Linked DNA regions of Homo sapiens: all the other regions are linked to region 3. Evidence: promoter capture Hi-C in 16 types of primary human blood cells and fetal thymus (Javierre and others, 2016). All regions are on one chromosome and are shown on one strand. Each heading gives the region's core, a stretch centred on a gene start or on the middle of the fragment in contact. The rest is flanking DNA. Distances are from core to core; before and after follow the strand shown. Region 1 overlaps HAUS5-DT (HAUS5 divergent transcript). Region 2 holds the start of PMIS2 (PMIS2 transmembrane protein). Region 3 holds the start of DMKN (dermokine).

The links. Contacts are between HindIII fragments. The CHiCAGO score rates a contact against its expected background, and 5 or more counts as called.
Region 1: a fragment that was not itself captured here is called in contact with the fragment with the promoter of DMKN in region 3 in 4 of 17 cell types (M1 macrophages, M0 macrophages, M2 macrophages and 1 more); the score reaches 9.4 in M1 macrophages.
Region 2: a fragment that was not itself captured here is called in contact with the fragment with the promoter of DMKN in region 3 in 3 of 17 cell types (M2 macrophages, M0 macrophages and M1 macrophages); the score reaches 6.2 in M2 macrophages.

Annotation. Positions count from the first base shown.
Region 1 is chr19:35,605,180-35,609,696 of GRCh38, forward strand. It overlaps HAUS5-DT (HAUS5 divergent transcript), which reads right to left. Exons shown (of 2, transcript NR_186318.1): 2 at 3,210-3,624. Among named protein-coding and RNA genes, the nearest start is that of HAUS5-DT, 5.2 kb to the right of the region's middle. The HindIII fragment of the contact is 3,634 bases long and covers 1-3,578 here.
Region 2 is chr19:35,585,067-35,589,313 of GRCh38, forward strand. It overlaps PMIS2 (PMIS2 transmembrane protein), which reads left to right and starts at 1,107. Exons shown (of 2, transcript NM_001395412.1): 1 at 1,107-1,475; 2 at 1,910-2,230. The coding sequence starts at 1,194. The coding sequence ends at 2,080. The HindIII fragment of the contact is 2,233 bases long and covers 1,079-3,311 here.
Region 3 is chr19:35,511,779-35,515,831 of GRCh38, forward strand. It overlaps DMKN (dermokine), which reads right to left and starts at 1,871. Exons shown (of 16, transcript NM_033317.5): 1 at 1,272-1,871; 2 at 812-1,012; 3 at 643-699; 4 at 1-35. The coding sequence starts at 1,697. The HindIII fragment of the contact is 13,607 bases long and covers 1-4,053 here.

The DNA of each region.
Region 1 (4,517 bases), core at 512-3,011, 93 kb after region 3:
GCTAATTTCAACCAATGGCCTGAAATACATGGCTGCTCCTCCCTTTTGTGGTTTCAACATAACAACTGACCAGCATTCCTTCCTGATCAGAGGCCACCTAACCACGGGGTGTGGCTCTGGCCAGTCTACAGAGGCTGCACACAAAGGGCCTTTGTGTCCTCTGCATCACCTTTTGATGTATAGGGCCTAATTGTAATACATTTAAGTGTTAAGTCTCCACTCCAAAGTGAACATGGGGCCTGGCACGGTGGCTCACGCCTGTAATCCCAGCACTTTGGGAGGCCAAGGTGGGCGGATCACCTGAGGTCAGGAGTTTGAGACCAGCCTGGCCAACATGGTGAAACCCTGTCTCTACTAAAAATAAAAAAATTAGCCAGGCATGGTGATGGGTGCCTGTAATCCCAGCTACTCATGAGGCTGAGGCAGGAGAATTGCTTGAACCCTGGGAAAGAGAGGTTGCAGTGAGCTGAGATCGCACCACTACACTACAGCCTGGGTGACAGAGTAAGACTCCATCTCAAAAAAAAAAAAAAAAAAAAAAAAAAGTGAATATGGGATGTTACTACACATGTGCTGTACCTTCCCTTCATGAATATTCATAGCTCCTCCTATAACCTGTTGAATATGTATACTGAGCCAAGCCATTCAGCGTTAACTCTGACCTTATCCTTCCCTTACTGGAGGTGCCTGCTCTCAGCTTCTACCGGAGGCTACACTTCTCGGCCTGTGAGATGGCCCGGCTGCAGGCTGCAACTCTTTATGAGAAATAAAGCTCTCCTTTCCAAATTTGTAAACCTGTATTAGTCTGTTCTCACGCTGCTGAAAAGAACTGCCCAAGACTGGGTAATTTATAAAGGAAAGAGGTTTAATTGACTCACAGTTCCGCAGGGTTGGGGAGGCCTCAGGGAACTTAAAATCATGGTGGAAAAGAAAGCAAAAACGTCCTTCCTCAGATGGCAGCAGGAAGGAGAAGTGCCAAGCAAAGAGGGAAAAGCCCCTTATAAAACCATCAGATCTCGTGAGAACTCACTATCTCAAGAACAGCAGCATGGGGGTAACCACCCCCATGATTCGATTACCTCCCACTAGGTCCCTCCCACAACACATGGGGATTTGGGGAACTACAATTCAAGATGAGATTTGGGTGGGGACAGCCAAACCATATCAAAACCTCATGATTCTTCAGTTGACATCTAATCTGAGCTACCATGGTCTATCAAAAAACCACAGCTCTTGAGGGGATCTCAATGGCTGTTAACAAACTGGTTAGAGTTCTGGTCAGGTTCTGATTGTAGAGAGCCTCTGTAACAGATATGGATTGCCTCCTTCCCCCCACCCTCCTTGTTATTTTTATTTCATTTTATTAAATTTTTTTTTGAGACAGGGTCACACTATGTCACCCAGACTGGAATGCAGTGGCACAATCTCAGCTCACTGCAACTTCTGGCTCCCAGGTTCAAGTGATTCTCATGCCTCAGCCTCCTGAGTAGCTAGGACTACAGGTGCATGCCACCATGCCCAGCAAATTTTTATATTTTTTGTAGAGACAGGGTTTTGCCATGCTGCCCAGACTGGTCTCAAACTCCTGAGCTCAACCAATCTGTCTGCCTTGGCCTCCCAAAGTGCTGGGATTATAGGCGTGAGCCACTGTTCCCAGCCATGATTTTTATTTAACAAATACTCATTATTTAACAAATACTTTCTGAGCACCTACTGTGTCCCAGGCATTGTCTTGGGAACGAGGAACACAACGGAGCAAGAGAAGTAAGGCCAACTTCTTCTCTGATGGAGCTTACATTCTAGTGGGAAAGAAAACTATAAACAAGTATACCCAAAAATAAACAAGATAATTACAGGGAATGGTAAATGCTATAGAGAAAAATAAAACAGAATAAGAAGCTAAAGTGGTGCCAGGACTGGTCCAGCAACTATTATGGTGTTGGGAGCAAGCCCCCCAAAATATGGCCATAAACTGACCCCAAGACTGGCCACAAACAAAATCTCCACAGCACTGTGACATGTTCATAATGGCCCTAACGCCCAAGCTGGAAGGTTGTGGGTTTACGGGAATGAGGGCAAGGAACACCTGGCCCGCCCAGAGTGGAAAACCACTTAAAGGCATTCTTAAGCCACAAACAATAGCATGAGCGATGTGTGTCTTAAGGACGTGTTCCTGCTGCAGTTAACTAGCCCAACCTATTCCTTTAATTCGGCCCATCCCTTCGTTTCCCATAAGGGATACTTTTAATTTAATATCTATAGAAACAATGCTAATGACTGGTTTGCTGTTACTAAATATGTGGGTAAATCTCTGTTCGGGGCTCTCAGCTCTGAAGGCTGTGAGACCCCTGATTTCCCACTTCACACCTCTATATTTCTGTGTGTGTGTGTTTAATTCCTCTAGCACCAGTGGGTTAGGGTCTCCCCAACCGAGCTGGTGTCTGCAATGGTGTGCCACCAGATAAGTACGGAAATTGCCAGCAAGTGTTTAGAAACACAGCAATTTGACATATCCATGACATCCAAGTATAGGATCAATGGATTTTCTTGTTGAACAGGGTAGAGACCAAAAGGATTGGTCCATGACAGGTTGGAAACATCAAACAAATGATCCTTCTCCATAGTTACAAGTAGTTTGAGATACACTGAGCTAGTGGGCAATGATGTCTACAAGGTATATTATTTAGAGTCATGCTAGCTGCTATAACAAATAAACCCCACCATTTCAGTAGCTCACAAAATAAAAGTTCTTTTTTTTTTTTTTTTTGAGACGGAGTTTCACTTTTGTTGCCCAGGCTGGAGTGCAATGGCACGATCTCAGCTCACAACAACCTCTGCCCCCTGGGTTCAAGCGATTCTCCTGCCCCAGCCTCCCAAGTAGCTGAGATTACAGGCATGCACCACCACACCCGGCTGATTTTTTTGTATTTTTAGTAGAGACGGGGTTTCTCCATGTTGGTCAGGCTAGTCTCAAACTCCTAACCTCAGGTGATCCACCTGCCTCAGCCTCCCAAAGTGCTGGGATTACAGGCATGAGCCATCACGCCCAGCCAGAAGCTCATTTCTTACTGTTCCTTTGAGCACATTCCAGCATCAGGGTCTTTCCACTTGCTGTTCCCACTTTGGGAACTCCATTTTCACAGTTTTCAAGTAGCTCTCACACTTTGGCTCTCACGTCTCAGCTCAAAGAACATCTTAGAAAGGCCTTCTGTGGCAGAGCCAGCAGGATGTTTATTGACTGCCTAGACCAGGACTACATTTCCCAGAGGCCCTTGCAGCTAGTTGAAGCCATAAGACAAGTTATGTTCAATGGACTGAGAGCAGAAGTGATGTATGTCACTTTAGGGTGAAGACTTTCAAGAAGCAGGTGCGAGTTCCTTATTCTCTCTTCTGCCTGGATTCAAAAGACTCTGAGCCCATAGAAGATGGTTGAATCACCTTATGGAAGAAGCCTGGATCCCTGAATTACTATGTGGATCAGGAGAAATGTCTGATGGGATGTTCTATGAGTAAGAAATGAGAAGACTCTTCTCAAACGTGGAAGGAGCTGCTGAAACCAAAATCACAAGTCCTAGAGAAGCTTCTTATTATCTCTCAGATGGTGGATGGGTTCCAAAAAGCATCCTGAAATTATCCAGAAAAACAGAAAAGAGATTTCAGATAAAGCAAAGGGAGAGAGATGCTGACAGAAGAAGACCAAGAGGCCACAGGGGCTCTGCTCCTTCAGGATCTAAGAAAGCAGGAAGGCACCAGTACCTCCCACCAAGGCCAACAGAACAGATACCATGAGAAAGGAACCAAGAAAAGGACAAATGGTGACATGTCTCCAAAACAAGGAGACATTGAGCATAAGAAGCAGAAAGTGAGGCCAGGTGCAGTGGCTCACACCTGTAATCCCAGCACTTTGGGAGGCTGAGGCAAGTGGATCACTTGAGGTCAGGAGTTTGAGACCAGCCTGGCCAACATGGTGAAACCCCGTCTCTACTAAAAATACAAAAATTAGCCGGGTATGATGGTGCATGCCTGTAATCCTAGCTACTTGGGAGGCTGAGGCAGAGAATTGCTTGAACCCAAGAGGTAGAGGTTGCAGTGAGCCGAGATTGTGCCACTGCACTCCAGCCTGGGCGACAGAGGGAGACTCTGTCACAAAAAAAATAAATAAATAAAAGCAGAAAGTGGCCAGGTATAATGGCTCATGCCTGTAATCTCAGTGCTTTGGGAGGCCAAGGTGAGAGGACTGCTTGAGGCCAGGAGTTTGAGACCAGCCTGGGCCACATAGCGAGACCCCGTCTCTACAAAAAATTAAAACTGAAAAAAATCTAGCTGGGAGAATTGGCTCAAGTCCCAGCTACTAAGGAGGCTGAGGCAGGAGGATCACTTAAGCCCAGGAGTTCCAGCATGTGATGAGCCGTGATCGGGCCATGGCTCCAGCCTGGGCAACAGAGTGAGGTCCCATCTCACAAACAAACAAACAAACAAACGAGAAAGCCCAGGTAGCAATGAGAATGAGACTTGCC
Region 2 (4,247 bases), core at 945-3,444, 74 kb after region 3:
CCCTGGTGACATCTTCATGCCAGCAATGGAGACCTTTGCTTGCCTCCAATCCTCTCACACCTGAAACCTCTTTTGCCAGGAAGACTCAGTCCTTTTCAAGAACTCACCTCATTAGGTGAGGCCCCCAGAGGATATTCTTCCTAACTTAAAGTTAACTGATTTCAGACCCTACCTACGTCTGCAAGACGCCTTCCCAGCAGCATACAGACTAGTACTTGACTGAGTGACTGGAGAAGGAGTGTGTACACCAGGGAGCAGGAATCTTCGGGTCATCTCAGAGTTCTGCCTACCACATTGGGGATTTCCTGTTCCATCGTTCCATTAGGTTGTGTTCTACTTTAAGAAAGATCTTCCCCCTTTTCCCCTTCTTTCTCTATTCTTTCCTTTTTTCTTTCTGTCAGCATAAACCAAGGAATTCTTTTTTTTTTTTTTTTTTGTCATTTTTTCTTGAGATGGAGTCTCACTCTGTCACCCAGGCTGGAGTGTGCAGTGTGATCTCGAATCACTGCAACCTCCGCCTCCCGGGTTCAAACGATTCTCCTGCCTCATCCTCCCTAGTAGCTGGGATTACGGGCGCCTGCCACCACACCCGGTTAATTTTTGTATTTTTAGTAGAGACGGGGTTTCACCACGTTGGTCAGGCTAGTCTCGAACTCCTGATCGCAGGTAATCCGCCCGCTTTGGCCTCCCAAAGTGTTGGGATTACAGGCATGAGCCACTGCGCCCAGCCGGAATTCATTTTTAATTCAAGACTTTACAATCCACTTCTGACACTACTCATTTTCCTCCCCTCAGTAAATCTCTTACTCTTACTGGGCGTGTCTAGTTTCTCTCTTCCACAACTCCTGGGAGACCCTCCTGACATCGCCCATCCGCGCAGGCTGCAGAGAGAGATCAGTGGGAGGAGGAGGAGCCGAGAGCCACCACTTAGGCTTCCAACCAATCCCTACCAGGGTGGGCGGAGCCCACTTCCTGATTGGCTGCACTCTCTGTGTCTTGGGGTGGGCGAGAACGGCGGGGCCACGCCCCCTAACTAGGCAGCCAATCAGGACGTGGGGTGCTGGTTTCTCCATTGCGAAGCTTCAGCCTTTGATGGTTTGGGTCCTGGGAGTCTGGTTAGTACAAGGGGAAGCCTAGTGGGTCTGGCGCTCCGTTTTCAAGACACTCGGAGTCCGTCTTTGAGGGGAAAGGTCATGGCCCTGAAACCACCTTCTGCCACCCAGCCTGCTCCCAACGCGCCAGCTACCCCAGACGCCCCCCCTACCACAGGTGATCCAGGTGCTTCAGCTGCCCCAGGTTCTCCCACTACCACAGGTGGTCCAGGTGCCCCAGCTGAGGTGCCCCAGGAGCCGCAAGAGCCTACACAGACACCAGAGGAACTAGCATTTTACGCCCCAAACTACCTATGTTTGACCATCTTTGCTATACTTTTATTCCCTCCATTTGGATTGGCAGCTTTGTACTTCTCTTATGAGGTAAAATAATGCCCAAGTCATAGCCCCCGTCCTTTTTTTTTTTTTTTTTTCTTTTTGAGACCCAGTCTCACTCTGTCCCCCAGGCTGGAGTGCAGTGGTGCAATCTCGGCTCACTGCAATCTCTGCCTTCCCGGTTCCAGCAATTCTCCTGCCTCAGCCTCCTGAGTAGCTGGGATTACAGACATGAGCCACAGTGCCCGGCTCATTTTTGTATTTTTAGTAGAGACGGGGTTTCACCATGCTGGCCAGGCTGGTCTCGAGCTTCTGACCTTGTGATCCACCCGCCTTGGCCTCCCAAAGTGCTGGCATTACAGGCGTGAGCCACTGCACCCAGCCTACCCTGTCCTCCATTTGGCCCCTGCATCTGCTCCTATCCTGGGACCTGCATAGGGGCTTTCCCTCAGTGACTGCAGGTCTCCAACCGTTCTCCCCAGGGTTCCTGGACACAGAAACCCACATCTATGCTTCCACCCCTACAGACTATGAAGGCCAACCAGAACAGTGAATGGGAAGAGGCTTACATCAACTCAGGCCGAACTGGTTGGTTCGGTGCATTCGTGGTAATGATTGGCTTAGGCATCATTTATGGCTTGGTCCTATATTAATGAAGTCTAGGCATAGCAACCCAGGGGTCCGCTCCCCAACCGAGCCACTCACCAAACACTAACCAGCCAAGTCAGCCATCAGGCAAGAAATTCAACCGCTGAGACATCTAGCCAAGAAATCCTCTAACCAAGGAACTCAACATTCAAGAAACCCACCAACCCAGGAACACACAGACCACCTGCCTGTGCTACTTCAACTCACTCAGCTCCAGAGCTGTCTTCGTTCACCCTAGGGGTCCACACTTCATGCCCTAGATCCCTTTAGCTCCTTGACACTGGGCTGTTCTTTCAGAGGAATTTTAAACCAAAAAACTGGAATGGAATGTTCTGGTTTCCTGTGGTGTGTGTGTATGTGTGTGTGTCAACATGCCCATGATTGTTTTCTGGGTCAGTGGTCAGTATCTGTGTTTCCCTGGAGCTGTTTCCTAGACTGTGAAAATCAGAATGTCCCAATGGGGAAGCCCACAGACATAGAATTCAGGCAGATGTCAGTTAAAAACTTACCTCTGACACTGAAAAACTGTATAGCCCTGAACAGATACTTTTCTTGAGCATAGTTCCTTTGTCTCTAAAGCAGGCATAATTGCCAATGTGGGGATGATATTTAGAAATCTGAACTGATGTTTATTCTCTAGGGGTCTTCTCATTTGAGCTGGGATTGGAGATGTCTAGTGTCTCAGAGCAGCAATAAGAAAACAGAAACCTCTTCCAGCTTCTGACATCCAAATGTCAAGCTCTTAGGAGAAGAATGGAAAGTCCTCAAGAAATGCAAATAGCTTTGGCAGAATAGCTGATGAAGACCACCTCTCCCCCCTCCAGAAAGGCATTGGTTCCCCATTCATGGAAAAGGGAATGTAGAGAGAGATTAGACAATAGTACATCCATAAGGTTCCTGGAATCTGCATCTGAGGAAGAGGGGCGTCAGAGACCCCAGCTGTTATCTATAATCCCTCCTCACAGATAAGGCCTAGAGAGGCTCCAAGTTCTCAAAGAAGATATGCTACATGGTGTAGACATTTACAAAGAAATGACCTCAGACAGCCAAGGAGGATACCCCATGGCCCAGCCTAGTGAGAAGAAGGTGGGTTCCATAGGAATCCCAAGTGCCAGGTGGAGACAGAACTGTAGAGGAAAACTAGGGATAAGCAGGGAGCCATCGTGCATGAATCAAAACAGAGATCTAGACTGACACCATGGGCCACAGACACCCCGGGGCTGCCTCTGATGCCCAAGCTTCATGGACAACCCCAAGTTCAGAACCAGATGAATATTTAGCACAATATTTAGCAGAACTAAGTTTCCACCACCATGGAGAATGGGGATTCTCAGTAGAAAGTCAATGGAGCTGCTGGGCAAGAGACTGCTCACTGTCCCCCAGAGCCCATCGCCTCTTTGTTCTGGGAACATTGCCTGGCCACGTCTCAGAGGTTCCCCTCTGCAGCCATGAAATGTGCTTTGGTCCTGTGGAATGTGAGCAGAACTGACATGTACCACAAACAAACCTGGCTTTTCAATGTCTCCTGGGACACTCCTCTAAACTCCTCCTCCCCCGGCCAACGGGGCAAGGGATACCCATGTGATGATTTAGAAGGCCACATGTTGTAGACGTGGCAAAGCCCCCATTAGCCTGGGTCCCTGAACCATTCTAGGAACAGCCTCCCTTCCCCCAACTGCCTCATGTGGTCAAGCAGAAAATAGACTACCATGTTGACAAATGACATGCTTGGCCTGTTTCCACAGCCCAATCCACCCAAACCAGTGCAGATGCAGGAGAATAGAGTTCTATTTCTTGCACATCTGGGATTACAGCTTCAAGTTCATACCCAACAGAGACATCCATCTTGTTGGGTGGTCTATAGGAAATAATAATAGAAGGAAACAACAAAGGCCCTAGTCCACCTTAATTGTAATTGTTGTGATGCTGAGTTTGTCTCCTCTGTGGGCTTGGGTGTCTGGGCAGATCTCATGTGTTTGTGGGACAATGCTCTGGGTTATGGGGATGCCTGCAGATAGGATGATGCCTAATTGTCTGTCATGTTAGCAGATCTAGAGGGTTAGCCATCCCTGTCCCTCTCCAGATCCAGCCCAGGCTGGGCCTGTCACATTCAGCTGCAAAGCCATGTCAGGTTAGGATGGTCCATGTCAACATCAGCAGGCAGACCCAAGT
Region 3 (4,053 bases), core at 621-3,120:
CCTCCACCTGAGCCAGATGGTGGGGGATTCGTGCACTGTCGAGGGAAAGGGATGGTGAGTTTGGGGACGGTGAGTTTGGAGACGTTGGCCTCGGCCATGGACACAGGCCAGGCCTCTCCCATTCTTTGGGGCTTGGCTTCCTTTCTCCTAATGTGTTTCTCCCACCTCCCCTTCCCATCTGCCTCCTCCCCAGGCCCAGGCCCGTCTCTTCCTCCTTTTTTTTTTTTTTTTTTTTTTGAGACAGGGTCTCACTCTGTTGCTCAGGCTGGAGTGCAGTGATGCGATCTCGGCTCACTGCAACCTCCATCTCCCAGGTTCAAGTGATTCTCCTGCCTCCGCCTCCCAAGTGGCTGCAATTACAGGCGCATGCCACTATGACCGGCTGATTTTTGTATTTTTAGTGAAGACAGGGTTTCACCATGTTGACCAGGCTGGTCTTGAACTCCTGACCTCAGGTGATCCACGTGCCTTGGCCTCCCAAAGTGCTGGGATTACAGGTGTGAGCCACCTCGCCCAGCCCCATCTCTTCCTCTCACCCCAATCCCTCCACTCCCCCATCTTGCTTTCCTCTTTGTCTTTCCCCAGCTCTCTGTAGCCTGCACCCAGTGGCTTCTTCATTTGTTCCCAGCCCCTTCCTCTTACCCCTTCATTCTGGTTGCTGGCTCTCACTGAACCATAGCCAGGCTGGGCCACAGCTCCCTGCAGAGAGGGTGAGACTGAGAGTAGGATCCAGAGGGACCAGGGAGGCACGCGGAGCATGTGGGCTTGGAGGGAGGGAGGTGGCAGGTAGCAGGTCTGGGGGTGACTTTACCTGAGTGTTGGTCCCAAAGTTTGGTGGCCCTCCATTGCCTCCTTGACCCCAGGGAGCTCCCTGAGGATTCATTCCAAAGCTGCCTGCTGAGTTTCCGGGGTATCCGTGGACCCACGGAGTCCCCAGACCTCCAGGATTGCCCTGGCCCTGGCCTCCAAGGCCACCTTGAGAGCCAAAGATGCCATGGCCTCCAGAAGTTTCCTGCAAGAACAACATACCTGCACTTAGTGGGACCATCTCTGACCCTGGTAGAGAAGAGCCAGGGCAAATCATAAAGAGACCAGGAGAGAGACAGGCAGAGGGACTCCAGGGTGGCATAGGAGGGGGGCAGAACATAGAAGGAAGCTGCCCCAGAAGCCTGCAAGTAAGAGATCCATCCATCCTTTCAACCGTTTCCCAAGAATCTCAGCCCAGCAGCCCACAGCCTCCCATTTCCACATGCAGCCCCACAGCCACTCACCCAAGCACCATTGTGGCCAGGCACCCCCTGCCAGGAGCCGCGGACAGCATCTGCTCCGTGTCGAATGACATCTTCTGCCTGTCTGCCAATCTCGTGCCCAGTGTTTCCCAGAGCATGGGCTGCTTCCCCGACCCTGTTGCCCAAAGCATCTGCTACGCCAAAGCCTGGAACCTGCCTGACTCCAGTGCCAACTGCTTCTCTGGTCCCTTGGCCAAGGGCCTCACTGACTTTAGAGCCAGCTGCCCCTCCGGCCTCTTTGCCAATGGCCTTTCCCACCCCTTCGCTCAGGGCGTCTCCCAGGCCATGTCCAAGGGCCTCCCCAATATTTGTCCCAGTGCTTTCCTCTCCGCTCTGCAGGGGGCCAGCCTCCCCACTGCCCAGGCAGAGGGCCAGCAGGAGGCAGGCCAGGGGCCCCTGGAACTTCATCTCTGCCCAGCCCCCTCTCTCTCCAGAGTGTCTTCCTCCCACCAGGGTCTCCTCCTTGCCGCCCTTGCTCTGCGTCTCTGTGCCCTCCTCTGTCCTCCTCCTTCCGACTCCCTGTCCTCCCTCCCTCTGGGTCTGCAGCCTTCTCTCTCCTGTCCTCAACTGCCTGGGCTTCTCAGAGTCCACCTCCCTGTCACTACTCCTTATACTCTAGGTTGGGAGAAGGTGACAGGGCTGGGCAACCTGAGGTCCCTCCCCGCAGTGACTCAGGGCCCAGCCACCAATAGGGTAATCAGCTGTTATTGTGAGTCTGAGAGTCTCTGTCGAAACAGAGAGTGAGCCGCATCAGGGAGGGAGGGAGAAATGGATGAGGTGATGCAAAAGTGCTCCCATTTCCCAACCCCAGGCATTCGGGGAGCTGGGTGGGGGCAGGGGCATCTAAGGAGACAGGTTGTCGTTGGCTCCTGGAGGCGGTGGGGTGGGGGCAGACTTAGAAGAGAGGAGTTACTGGCAGGACCCCACCAAAGGAGTAAGGACAGGGAAGCCCCAGGGGACAGGACCCACCCAGGCTCAGCCAGCCTGGCTCAGGGGCTCCAGAGTGACAGGCATTGCCCGTCCTCGGCCTGGCCTTTCTCGGTTTCAGCACCTCAGCCTCTCCTCTCCCTCTCCCCTCCCGCATTGCCACCTACAGGTGACTGCCTTCTTGTTCCTCCACACCTTCCAGCCCACAGAGAGAGACTGGCAAACACGGGGCTGCGTGTCAGTTTCTGAGATTCTGGGGAGAGCCCCCGGGGGGACCCTCGGTGTCGGGGAAGGAGGTGGCCATAGCCCTTTGAGTGGTCAGCAGGGTGTCTCAGCGTTCAGGCTGCTCCCGGCTGAGAAAGCTGGGCGCGGAGCAGGGCAGCCAGGCGCGCCAGCCACCCCCAGGGAACGAGTGGGAGGGAAGGCCAAGGGAGGGAGCCGCTGACCCAGGCACCCATCCTGTTTACGCAGCCCTAGAGGGGCACGTGTGAGTATAAGCGCCTATGAGGGGCGGGACTGGGCCAGCTCACCCCACCCATCCCCCAGGCCAGGGGCCAGGGCAGCAATGGCAAGCGAGAAGAGGGTAGCGCAAGGTCAGGAGCCATCCGTGAGAGCCACGGCCCTCTCCCCAGTCCCAGCTCGGGATACAGAACCTGGGAGCCTCCCCCCGCCTCACCCCTGCCCAGCAAGTGTGGCTGCTTCTCTATTCCCAGGGGCCACAGGGCCTCCCACTGTTTCGTATCACTGGGGTTCATCGCCCAGTTAGGAGGGGCCAGTTTCCATCAGCCTTTCTCAATGTCTCTCAGTCAGTCTCTCTCTTCTCTCCACCCCAATATCCGCACCCCAGCTTATAACATCCAACACTTCTTACCTTGTAAACACTATCCCCATCTGTCCTCCTCAGCTCCTACTTCCCTGTTATTCCATCTCTGACTCGTTAATGATGATAATAGCGATGGTGGTAATAATAATAATAATAATAATAATAATTACAGCTCCAGCTTATCAGCGGTTCTGTATGTACCCAGCATTGGACTAAGCACAAGCAGTTTAAGAATTATACAACTCTGGGAGATGGTTCTTTTTTTCTAGAGACAGGGTCTTGCCCAGGCTGGAGTACACTGGCACAATTGTAGCTCACTGCAGCATCGACCTCCTGGGCTCAAGCGATCCTCCTGTCTCAGTCTCCCAAGTAGCTGGGACTATAGATGCACACCAGCACACCCAGCTAATTTTTTTTTTCTTTTTGAGACAGAGTCTTACTCTGTTGCCCAGGCTGAAGTGCAATGGCACGATCTTGGCTCACTGCAACCTCCGCCTCCCAGGTTCAAGTGATTATCCTGCCTCAGCCTCCCAAGTAGCTGGGATTACAGGCGCATGCTGGGCCTGTAATCCCACGCTGGGCTAATTTTTGTGTTTTTAGTAGAGACAGGGTTTCACCATGTTGGCCAGGCTGGTCGTGAACTCCTGACCTCGTGATCTGCCTGCCTCGGCCTCCCAAAGTGCTGGGATTACAGGCGTGAGCCACCGCACCTAGCCTCCAGCTAATTTTTTAATTTTTATTTTTGTGGAGATGAGATCTTGTTGTGTTGCCCAGGCTGATCTCAAACCCCTGGGCTCATACGATCCTCCTGCCTTAGCCTCCCAAAGTGCTGGGATGACAGGCATGAGCAAACAGTGGTATTACATTATGCTTGCTGCAGCTCCTGCACTCTCTTTGTTTTTTGTTTGTTTGTTTGTTTTGTTTCGAGATGGAGTCTCCCTCTGTTGCCCAGGCTGGAGTGCAATGGCGCAATCTCGGCTCACTGCAACCTCCACCTCCAGAGTTCAAGCAATT